Regions from separate parts of the Homo sapiens genome. Here region 2 is linked to region 1. Evidence: promoter capture Hi-C in human tissues and cell types (Jung and others, 2019). All regions are on one chromosome and are shown on one strand. The core of a region is centred on a gene start or on the middle of the fragment in contact, and the rest is flanking DNA. Distances in the headings are between cores, read along the strand shown.

Region 1 (6,121 bases), core at 2,164-4,663:
TGCCCTGGTTAATGGGGGATGAGAGGCTTTTGTGCTCCACATCCCTCGTACCCAGCCAACCCCCACCTTCTGTATGAGTCTGAGGCCAGCCTCTGCTTTCTGCCTCCTCATGAAAGCCAACACTGTTCAGCTGCCCAACCTCACCACAGCTGTGCCCGGCCAGCAGAGGGGAGACAGGACCGATGGCCCCAAGCTGTGGGACAAAGCCAGTCCTAATACACCCAGCCCTAGGGAAGACTGAGCTGGGCACAGAAGGGTAAGAGAGACTGCACACAGCTAGGATTAACATGATTTATTTCATTATCAGTCTTACAGGTTGCTGAGGTTGGGCAAAGCCAGGATAGTAACTTAAATCCAAAGCACTTTTGTTGAGTGACAACCCGATTAGCAAGGCCCTGTTACTGAACAGAGGGCAGTGGAGGGCACCCCAGGAACCACAGCACACAGACTAGTGTTAGAAACCCCTTCCCAGAAGCAACCGGTGGGACTTGGCCCTTACCAGCCAGGGGTCTACTCCATTGGCTCTTGGTGCCCACCAGCCCCTGTTAGAGGAGGCCCAGAGGCCTCCAGAGGCACCATGGAGGCAAGATGGGCTGGGTAGAGAGCAGGACTGGAGCTTCCTCACCAGGGTTCTGCCTCTGGCCCCGATCTCCCCATCCACACAGCGGAGCCAGGCCACTGGAAAGGACAGCCAGTCCAGCCCCTTCCTGGAGTGAGGCCCCCAGCCAGCGGGGATGTGGCGGCTGCTTAACTGTTCTGCTTTCTTCCCTAGTTATCAAACTGTTACCTAGTTATGGTGTGAAGGGGAGGGGGCAGGGACTTAGGACCAAAGGTGGGAGGTAAGCTCCTTTTTCTACCCTGGTAAATAGCCCCAGCCTTCTTGGGGCTACACTGATTAAGAAATGGGATCACTCAGGAGGATTGCTTGAGCCCAGGAGTTCGAGGCTGCAGTGAGCCATGATCGCACCACTGCACTCCAGCTTGGGAAATAGCAGGACCCTGTCTCTAAAAACAAAGAAAAAAGACAAGGAGATGGAATCAAAGCCCAGAGGTCCTCCCCTTCTCAGAGCCACCACTAGTTCTCTGTGACCATGGAAAACTACCCCCAGCCCCACTGCCTTTTGCCTCCGGTCAGTGGGTTTTGCGGGGCTCTGAGGTGTCTCCCCACTCACCCAGCTCTGGGCAGAGCAGCTGGGCTGGGCTGGGGCTGAGCTAACCAGAACCTGGAAGTAGGGCTCGGGGTTCTGGCTGTGGCCCCATCCCTGGCTTGGCCCAGCCTCGTCAGCTTTGGTCCAGGTTCCTGAATGGTGCCTCCCTGCCCACCTTGTGTTGGGAGCGTGAGCATTAGAGGGGAAGAGGGCGGACAGGAAGGGAGGGTCAGTTATTTTACAAGTTTTTAAAAAGTTACAGGTAGGTTAACTTTGAGTAAAAAAAAAAAAAAAAAAAATGTCACAAAACAAGGATCAAACAGAGGGCACGTTTCCCTCTCCCCTTCCCTTCTAGGGGCATAAGTGGTGGTGAGAACACTCATATGATGGTGCAGGACTGCAAGGCGCCCCCCTTCCGGCTACCTTGCGTGGGCACAGGTTTGCCTTTCCCGTAGTACCCCGTGAAGATGGCCCTGACCTCCATGTTCTTGGCCAGGGTCAGCATCCAGCGCCCATTGCCCAAGGAATAGAGCTTGCCCCGGCTTAGCTCGCCCACCTCCTCGCCTCGGCTGCCCCCCTTCTCCTGCCGCAGAATCTCTAAGAGGTCAAGGCCCGTCTGCACGGCCTCTACGTCAGCTGCACAGCCGAGGGTGATGTGGGCGCGGCTCCCCCGCGGCAGGTTGTCAGTGGGTGACAGCTTGTCCACATCACTCGGCCACAACTGCAGTTGCTGCTCGCTTAACTCCACCCGGGCCCCAGTCGTCTTGGGTGTCACAAAGAGGGCAGAGATGGTCAGCGTGAAGGCCTTGGAGTAAGATTTCTTTAACACCTGGGGAGAGTGAGAAAGAGGGGCCCAAGCTAGAGATGGCAGGCTCTTGAGGAACAGCTGACCCAGGGAGGGTCCCTCCTGGAGGAGAGAAGGGGAAGTCTAACAGAAGTGAGCACAGCTGAGCAGGGGTCGGTATAGGCCCAGCATCCACTAACAACTGCGGCACGCACCTTCCATAGGCGCTCCAGGCTCAAGTGAGAAACACGAAGGCGCTCAGACAGGGCCACACGGGGACAGCCGGACTTCCTGAGGGAGCCCAGCTCCCTGCACACTGGCTTCCGGCCTCAGCGGGCTGGCTGACCTCTCGGTGCCTTGGCTTCATCACCCGTAAAACAGGGAGAACCAGAGCCTACCTCAGAGTTAATGTGGTTATGAGAGTGACTAGGTAAACAGCCCACAGGGGTGTCCGCGCACACAACAGCTGCTACTGTTGGCACCGCTCAGCTTCCCCTGGGACCCAGACAGCGCCCTGGAGGACAGGGTGAGGTCAGACTGAGGTCAGACTCGCCCTTGATGGAAACCTGCTCTTACACTTTGGTTCCCATCTGATGATATGTCTGCTTCTATCTGATTCTTTGAGACAGCCCATCCCATCTCAGCATAAACGCTTTTCTATTTTTGCTCACGATCCCTTGTCCCAACAGTGTCTGGCATGAAATGGGTAGTTAATAAATGCTAAATGAAGGCATGGTTAGGGATGGTAGCTCAGGTGTTACATATTCATTCCACTATGCTAGGGTGCTGGAACCACAGGAGTCAACGAAACTTAAAAACTCGCCCTCAGGGGAGCTTCCATTTGGGAGGACACTCTAGTGAACAAACAAACGATTGTGCTAACCTAGGCAGAGAAGTGGGAGAGTGGGCTTGGGGGTGGACACTTGGAAGTTGGAGACTGTGGATATGGGTGACATGCCTGGCATTCAGGGATCACTGTCAGTGGCTGTGGGTGTAAGGTGCCAGCTGTGTGGTGCAGAAAGGTCTCGTACCCATTAGCCAATAAGCTTCATTATCGTATGAAACTCCCTCACTCTGGGGCCAGGCCAGACCTCAGACCTGGGGACAGGGATGGGGACCTCAGTGCACCAGGCTCCCTGGGGGCGAAGGACTCCTAGTCTTTGGAAGGTAAAACAGGCTCAGAGAGACCAGAGCAGGAGCCCACTGTGGACCAGCATTCTCCATGAATCTGCAGAAGGCGAAGGTGCTTGGGGGCAGGTGAATGCACAGGCTGGCAGTACTGCCAGGGCAGGCTCCTTAGAACCTGCGGCTGAGGTCTATGCAGCTACGCCTGGGGACAGGGGAGCTAGGAGGAGGAGATGCCATTTTTCTTGAGCTGCCATCTGGTTTTTGGTCCCTGCCTGGCACCGGTACCTATCTTCAGAAGATGCTGCAGCCCCTTCTCCCCCAACCTCCCACCTCCCCCATGTGTCCCTGGGGAAGACTCACATCTTGTTGAGCGTACTCCTCTGCCCCGGGAGCCTTCCCGTAGTCACAAAACTTGGTTGTGCAATGCAGCACGCCTGGGGGTCTCTTTCCAAAGTAGGTGACCAAGTCCATCTTCTCCCTGGGCTCATCCCCAGGGACGACTGCCGGGAGAAAACGGGTGCAGTCAGGGCAGGGGAGCAGGGGCATACCAACATCCGCCACCAGGACCACCGAGGCCCAGCGCAAAACACTCGGACACTAAGCATCACCTCTCCAGCAACCCACTACAGCTCATTCATTGGTTAGTTGGTCAAACTAATGGCAACTTTAGAGCAATAAAAAGTTAAAATTCTCAGGCCAGGTGCGGTGGTTCACACCTGTAATCCCAGCACTCTGGGAGGCCGAGGTGGGTGGATCACAAGGTCAGGAATTCAAGACCAGCCTGGCCAAGATGGTGAAACCCCGTCTCTACTAAAAATACAAAGAAATTAGCCAGGCGTGGTGGCGGGCGCCTGTAATCCCAGCTACTTGGGAGGCTGAGGTAGAGAATTGCTTGAACCCAGGAGGCAGAGGATACAGCGAGCCGAGATAGTGCCACTGCACTCCAGCCTAGGCAACAGAGCAAGACTCCGTCTCCAAAAAAAAAAAAAAAAAAGTTAAAATTCTCTGGCTTTACATTGTATAGATCTTTCCATCTCTTCTCCAAACTCTAAGGCATTTGTAACAGAGGCAGGCAGTACAGGCCAAGGGAATCTAAGATTTACTAGCACCACGTCTCAAAGGGGAAGCAAGTCATGGGAAGTGGGGTGGAAAGAAAACAGAGGGCTGGGAACAACATGGTACGGTGGAAACAGCCAGAACACAGTGAATATCTCAGCTCTGCCATGTACCAGCCATCGGCCTCGGGCAAGTGACCAACCCTATCTATCAATCCAGCACAACAGTTAGGGTGACCATATACCCCAGTGTTCCCAGGACCACCAGGGAACTATCAGTAGTGCCCCATTTCACTCAGGGGCCCATCTGGACAAGCAGTCACAACGTCACCATCAGTTTAATACACACCTTGCAGGCCTATGGGGGGGCCTCCTGGTACAGGAAGGGTCTTGGACTATAATGGGGTGACATTATGGGGCTGGAAGACACAAAGAGGAGTGGAGTATCTGTGATTTTGATTTCCAGACTCCACACCTGTGGCTGTCTTTGGAGTCACTCGCTTTTTCCTGTTATGTTCTGAATTGAGTCCCCATGAGGATGTCTCGCCCTCCACAGGGGAGGAAGGCCTCTCCTGAGAGCAGCCTTGCTGGCCCATTACATTTCTCCTGCTCTAATCCTGGGCAGAAAAATCCAGTTTTCCTTTACAAATAAAATAGGCTGGGCATAGTGGCTCGCACCTGTAATCCCGGCAATTTGGGAAATTGAGGCGGGGCGTTTGAGACCAGCCTGGCCAACATGGTGAAACCCTGTCTCTACTAAAAATTTATAAATTAGCCAGGTATGGTGGCGGGTGCCTGTAATCCCAGCTACTTGGGTGGCTGAGGCAGGAGAATTGCTTGAACCCGGGAGATGGAGGTTGCAGTAAGCCGAATTGCCCCACTGCACTCCAGCCTGGGCGACAGAGCAAGACCCCCGTCTCAAAAAAAAAAAAAAAAAAGATCTGGCAATCATCCTGTCAAGCTTGATTCGTCCCATCTTGGGCCAAGGGCCCCTCCTTTCTTTTGTGCTACCGACCAGCCTGGTCAAGATGGTGAAACCCTGTCTCTACTAAAAATACAAAAATAAAAAAAAATTAGCCGGGCATGGTGGCAGGCGCCTGTATTCCCAGCTACTTGGGAAGCTGAGGCAGAGAATTGGCTTGAACCCAGGAGGCGGAGGTTGCAGTGAGCCGAGATCATGCCACTGCACTCCAGCCTGGGCAACAGAGCAAGACTCCGTCTCATAAATAAATATTAAAAGCAACTTTGAGCAGTAGTCACTCCAGGGCAGAGCCACCAGCTCACAGGTACAGGGCTTGCTCCTGGCCAATGTCACTGCAAGCACCACAGTTCACTGCAGAGTTCAAGTTTAGGAGCTGAGAAAAAAGCTCTCTGAGAACCCATACAGGCACAAATTCCCTGCTTCTGTGCAATATACACAATGTCAACAAACCAGAGTGGGGCTATTTCAGGCATGAAGATCATCTAAAATTGGGGGTGGCTGGGTGCGGTGGTGGCTCACGCCTGTAATCCCAGCACTTTGGGAGGCCAAGGCAAGCGGATCACCTGAGGTCAGGAGTTCAATACCAGCCTGGCCAACATTGTGAAACTCCGTCTCTACTAAAAATACAAAAATTAGCTGGACGTGGTGGTGCACACCTGTAGTCCTAGCTACTCGAGAGGCTGAGGCAGGAGAATTGCTTGAATCTGGGAGGCAGAGGTTGCACTGAGCTGAGATAGCGCCACTGCACTCCAGCCTGGGCAACAGAGGGAGACTCCGTGTCACAATAAATAAATAAATAAAATTGGAGGCAACCAGAAATGGCCTAAAGGCATATAGATGGATTAGTGGGTGGCACTTCTCCAACAGGTCACTCCAGGAGAGCCACCAGGACCCTTCTTTATCTCAAACCTATCATTGGAGCAAAAAGCCCATGCCAAGAGAGAACCCTGCTAGAGTGGCCAGAGTCCAGGGTTCCAGCCCGTAAACCCCACATCCCTCCTGGGTCCATGTTTTTCCATCTGAA
Region 2 (5,778 bases), core at 1,478-3,977, 420 kb before region 1:
CACTGCAACCTCCACCTCCTGGGTTCAAGCAATTCTCCTGCCTTAGCCTCCTGAGTAGTTGGGACTACAGGCACGTGCCACCATGGCTAGCTAATTTTTACTTTTGTTTTGAGATGGAGTTTCGCTCTTGTTGTCCAGGCTAGAATGCAATGGCGCGATCTCGGCTCACTGCAACCTTCACCTCCCGGGTTCAAGAGATTCTCTTCCCTCAGCCTCCCGAGTAGCAGGGATTACAGGTGCAAGCCACCATGACTGGCTGATTTTTGTATTTTTAGTAGAGACAGGGTTTCATCATATTAGTCAGGCTGGTCTCGAACTCCTGACCTCAGGTGATCTGCCCGCCTCAGCCTCCTAAAGTGCTGGGATTACAGGCGTGAGCCACAGTGCCCAGCCTAATTTTTGTATTTTTAGTAGAGACGGGGTTTCACTGTGTTGGCCAGGCTGGTCTTGAACTGACCTTGTGATCCACCCGCCTTGGCCTGAATGTTTATTTATTTAATTTTTAGGATGATGTCCCTGGCAGCCAGTGGAAGAATAGGATAGAATAAGGAGAGAATAATCAGGTGGTTAAGGCAGTGGCCCAAGGGACAGAAATTGCAGCATTTAGCCAAGAGGAATTTGGCGGGGTTGTGGAGAAAGGCCAGTGTCTGGGCTGAAGAGAATTTTTGCAGGTCAAACCCATAGTCGCAGAGGTAGATTTTATGTGTTACTGGTGGGGAGGCCAATGAGGGAAACAGAGGCCAGCTCTTGAGAAGTCAGAAGCAGGGCAGGGTTTGAATGAATGGAACAAAGCTATGGGACGTAAAGCCCCCAAACCTGACTCTGAACCTGGTATATTTCTGAGTTTCTCTGTGATCTTGAAAATGTCATATTATGTTGTCTTTAGTTTTCTATCAGCGGATAATATGGCCTCTCCTATCTGCTATTCATGATTGTGAGAAAGAAACCAGGCAGGGAGTGTATAAGGTGTGTAAGTCCTTTGTAAGCAGTAAATCACTAAACAAATCCTAGACCCTATGTTATCAGGGAGGCAGTTGGCCGCACGGGATAGCGTAGTTACAAGAGACTATAGGCGGAGATGGGGGATATCTGTCCTGTGGTGTAGATAAACAGCCTAATCAATACACACACACTCTACAGGTAAATACAGCAATTTCCATACTGAGCTGTGTCTACCAGAGGGCAATAGGAGGTTCTCAATTCTCACCACCAGTGACCCTATGAATTGCCCTGTAGATGCCTCTGTCCCTCATTGGATATGAGGTGGTACGAGCGGTCTGAATCTGTAGACTTAGACAGGCTTCAGGTATCTGGGGAACCATGTGAGTAAAACCTTGTATTGTTTCTGGGGCTAGAATCTAGTCTCCTTCAAACACTCAGAAGGATCTGTGACTGCCTTCAAAGGTTAAGAGTCATTGATTTTTCTCACTAGAAATTAATAAGAACAGCTATCCTTGGGGAGAAGGAATGATGGGGGTAGGGAAAGATTTTCATTTAATATTTTTGACCTTTCTGAACGGTCTGCATTTTCTAAACAGGAACATGTATTAGGTTCATTGAAAAAAAATATGTCAGGGGTTAGCTGAGCAGTGAGATAATGGGTCCTTTTTAGATTTTTGTCTTTATACCTGTTCGTATTAAACAAACACAAATATTAATAACATATTTTTAAAGACCCAAAAAAATAAAAATTAAAAACCCTGATAGTATCAGCACATACACAGAAATCACTCCATTATGCAAAGTTCATCCTCTATTATGAAAGGCAAAATGTCTACATTTCCTATCAACCACTGGCTTCAATTCAGTAAAACTTGCATACCAAGTAGGCAAGGTGGAAAAGAAAAAGGCAGAACATTTCATGTATTTCAATTCAGACGCATAAAAATGTCAAGCCCTACACGTTATCAGCTTTCGTATACACCGTCTTCTGCATTCGCCTGTACGGGCCAATGGGCTAGCTGGTCGGCGTTTGATGCTTGAAGTGATGGAACGGAGTACGGGGTTAAATCCACTACCCTCTCCCCACGCACTCTAGTAATTACTCTATTTCCACGTCATGTTTCCGGGTGTGTGTGTCCCTGCTCACGCAGAAACTGAAGTTCAAAGCAGGCGGAGTCACCCATGTTCTTTTTGTTGTCCCCAGAACCCAATTCAGGAGTTGGGTCCCCAGAGGATCTGGAGATACCTGGGGACTATCTAACTAGCTGATTCCCGCGTGGTAAGAGGCTCTCAACCTCGCCACCACGTGGTGCCAAGGGCCGGGAAAAGGGAGAGCGGGCAGGAGGGAGCTGTATCAGGGGCATTTAAAGTGCCTTGACGTCACGCACTGCCAGGAACTCAGCTGAGTTTTCAGCAGGACATTCCGGTCATCTTCCCTCCCTCCCCCCGGGCTTCTGTGCCCAAGTCCTCGGCTCTTCCCTCGCTGTGGCGGAGGGAGGAGCACCGAACTGTCGGAACAGCCAGCACAGGGGCGTATCAGTCTCCTCTTGGCTCCGCCCTTTCTCCTAGCTGCTCTCCTCATTGGTCAGTGGGCGGGGCTTCGGCTGTACCGCACACGCACTGGGACCTCTGGGTGGCCGAACGAGCTGGCCTTTCATGAATTATGCATGACGGCGTGCCTCGGCCAGGCTGGGGCTGGGCGAGGATTGGCTGAAGGGGCTGTAATTCAGCGGTTTCCGGAGCTGCGGCGGCGCAGACTGGGAGGGGGAGCCGGGGGTTCCGACGTCGCAGCCGAGGGAACAAGCCCCAACCGGATCCTGGACAGGCACCCCGGCTTGGCGCTGTCTCTCCCCCTCGGCTCGGAGAGGCCCTTCGGCCTGAGGGAGCCTCGCCGCCCGTCCCCGGCACACGCGCAGCCCCGGCCTCTCGGCCTCTGCCGGAGAAACAGGTGAAGGGGGTGCAGGGTGGGGCCGTTGGGGAGGCCTGGGGACCCGGGGGCTCCGCAGCGGCAGGGGGCCTCTGGGACCTTGGGGATGTTGTGATGGACGCTGCAGTGGGGCCGGGAGAGATGAAGAGACGCGGAGGGTCGCCCTGAGGGAAGACTCTTCGGGATGACAGGAGCGGGCCTCGGAAGGGACTCGGGGCGCTGGAGGGAAGTTTCGTTCTTCGGAGAAACAGAACGCGCTCGAGGGGGCACCGTGGGGCGAGGGCGCACTCGGTTGCGGCGGCAGGAGTGAGGGACAGTCCCCCGATTTCCTGCTCCCTGGGGCCCTGGGGACGTTCCGGCCACCGGAGCGACTGTCACGCCGACGGGGATCACCGGCGCGAGTGGGGGGTCGGAAAGCGCCTCCTCCCCGCCCGGTCGGCGGCTCCCGCTGAGCCACTTCCTCCGCTTGCCCTGTTCCCGCTCCTTCAGGAGACAGCTGTGCCCTTTTGGAGGCAGGAATAGGTGTGTCTGTCGCCTGCAGCCTTACGGGCTGGCTGGTCGTGGGTAGGCTTTATTGCATAAGAATCAAGTTTCCTGTAGGGAAATTGACAGACCGGTACTCTTTCTAAATTCCCTCGCATCTTTTTCTAGGTTAAATTATGCTCCCCCCACGTCCCCGCCTTGTAAAAAAGAGAAAAAAAGACAAAATAAAATCCCCATCAACCCGTCAAGCCAGCTCTAGAGAGAGAAATAAACCTCTTGACATTGTCCTTTTCCAAATACCTGGTAAAGTCGGCCAGAAGATAAATAATTGAGCCATTGCATTTACTGGATTGTGGTGTTGCTTAATTGCATAGGACGGAATGAACCAATTGAGAGTGGGAGTTTTCTGTCTCAGAGCCAAGATCTTGGGTAAATGCAGAGGAGAGGGAAACAAAGACAGGCTGGCCTTGAAAAAACCATGTGTGCAAACTTTACATGCATTTGGGGGGTGTGGTTGCACTGAAGTTAACAAGATTCAAACCGTCGCCCAAGTTGGTATTTCCATGTTTGGTACACATCACTCTGTGCCATATCAGGTCGTTGTTAAGTGTGGTGACAAAATCAGTGGTTAGTCATTTTTTTAATTAAAAATGTGTATAGTGTGTACCTGCTGGTCTTACTGTATGTGCAACTAAAGGTTTACATAGTCTGTGTATGGGTTGTAAATTTTTGGCTGGCTGTGCTGATAAAGCATTGGGCTTGAATAAAGCAAAGCAGAAAATCATCTCAATCTTTTATATGTGGATTTAGACTGTGTTATGACTTGGTTCAGCCAGTTTTCTATCTTATTTTATATTAAATATGTCTGTGTTCTCTGAGTCAGCACATTTATTTCCTTATTACATGTTCCAGACAGGAGTGCTAGCCCAGTTTTTGTTCAGTTTGCACAGTGGGATGGGGAAACAAGTCTGGAATTTAAAAAAAAATGTTTTAGAGGTTGGAGCCTTGATTTTAGTCTCTATATTAGCACATCCATCACAAAGAACCATTAGTAAATTCATGAATCTTTTGTTTTTTATGTAGTTCATTTGAGAAGAATAATCACTTAGAAATATCCACAGTGCCAGGCATGGTGGTGCACACCTCTGATCCCAGCTAATTGAAGGCTGAGGTGGGAGGATTCCTTGAGTCCAGGAGTTGAGTCTGGTCTGGGCAACATGGTGAGAGGCCAGGAATTGGGTCTAGAGTCTAGTCTAAGCACCATAATGAGAACCCATCTTTAAGAAAGAAAGAAAGGAAAGGAGGAAGAAAGGAAAGAAAAAGAAATACCCACAGCACAGTTATGAATTAACCCACAAAGGACTTGTGAGGTGGGTAGTTCACATAACAATTACCCTAATATCGTAGATAAGAAAATTGAGGCCAAAGGATCAAGACACTTGGCCAACGCAGCAGAGTGCCATAGTGGTGGAATTTGTGCCTCCTTCTGTATATTTTGTGAAAAGTATCAGTGAAATTCTTTTTTTTTTTTTTTTTGAGTCAGAGTCTTGCTCTGTTGCCCAGGCTAGAGTGCAGTGGCGCAATCTTGGCTCACTGCAACCTCTGCCTCCTGGGTTCAAGCGATTCTCCTGCCTCAGCCTCCCAAGTAGCTGGGACTACAGGCGTGCGCCACCACGCCCAGCTAATTTTTGTATTTTTAGTAGAGACCGGGGTTTTACCATATTGGCCAGGCTGGTCTTGAACTCCTGACCTTGTGATTTGCCCACCTCTATCTCCCAAAGTGCTGGGATTACAGGTGTGAGCCACCGCGCCCAGTAAGTATCAGTGAAATTCTAACATATATCTGAACAGTAAAATACCACCAATAGGCTGAAAGACTTCATGGGAGGTAAATATTCAATAAACAGGTGAAAAAAGAAATACAAATGGAGCTTGCTTAGATTATTTTTCTAATTGCTATGTCTAACTTGGGAAGTGAGGAACTGTTTTTGGTCAGCATAATTTACCATCAGAATTTAGCTATTTACTAATGAAAAGAAATACTAATCTAGGTTTGTTTTAGATTAAGGACAGTCATGACCTAAATGTCATTTAAACCAGAGTGCATTGTGGCTTGATCAGTGGTCATTTCTGTCTCTAGAAAGTTGCTTTAACTTCTCTGCCTCTACGTGTCTCTTGACATTCAGATATGAGGTGGGGTAGAGGTGGTGACCAACTTTCCAGACGCCTGAGTCCAAACCTTCTTAGCTTATGGTTTTCTTAGGTGATGTGCAAATCAACAAATATATACTTTTTTTTTTTTTTTTTTGAGTTGGAGTTGCACTCTATCACCCAGGCTGGAGTGCAGTGGCATGATCGTGGCTCACTGCAACCTCCTCCTCCCGGGTTCAAGTGATTCTCGCACCTCAGCCTCCTGAGTAGCTGGG

What was found. Contacts are between HindIII fragments. The study calls those that stand out against the background at their distance.
Region 2: a contact is called between the fragment with the promoter of STAT3 here and a fragment that was not itself captured in region 1, in 1 of the 25 tissues and cell types used here (pancreas).

What each region holds. Positions count from the first base shown.
Region 1 is chr17:41,969,331-41,975,451 of GRCh38, reverse strand. CNP (2'',3''-cyclic nucleotide 3'' phosphodiesterase) reads right to left here. Exons shown (of 4, transcript NM_033133.5): 3 at 3,421-3,560; 4 at 1-1,977. The coding sequence ends at 1,528. Among named protein-coding and RNA genes, the nearest start is that of CNP, 5.6 kb to the right of the region's middle. RefSeq lists an enhancer at 2,160-2,279. The HindIII fragment of the contact is 5,813 bases long and covers 507-6,121 here.
Region 2 is chr17:42,385,391-42,391,168 of GRCh38, reverse strand. STAT3 (signal transducer and activator of transcription 3) reads left to right here and starts at 2,727. Exons shown (of 24, transcript NM_139276.3): 1 at 2,727-2,890. RefSeq lists an enhancer at 2,007-2,276 and silencers at 2,797-3,076, 3,307-3,386. The HindIII fragment of the contact is 15,490 bases long and covers 1-5,778 here.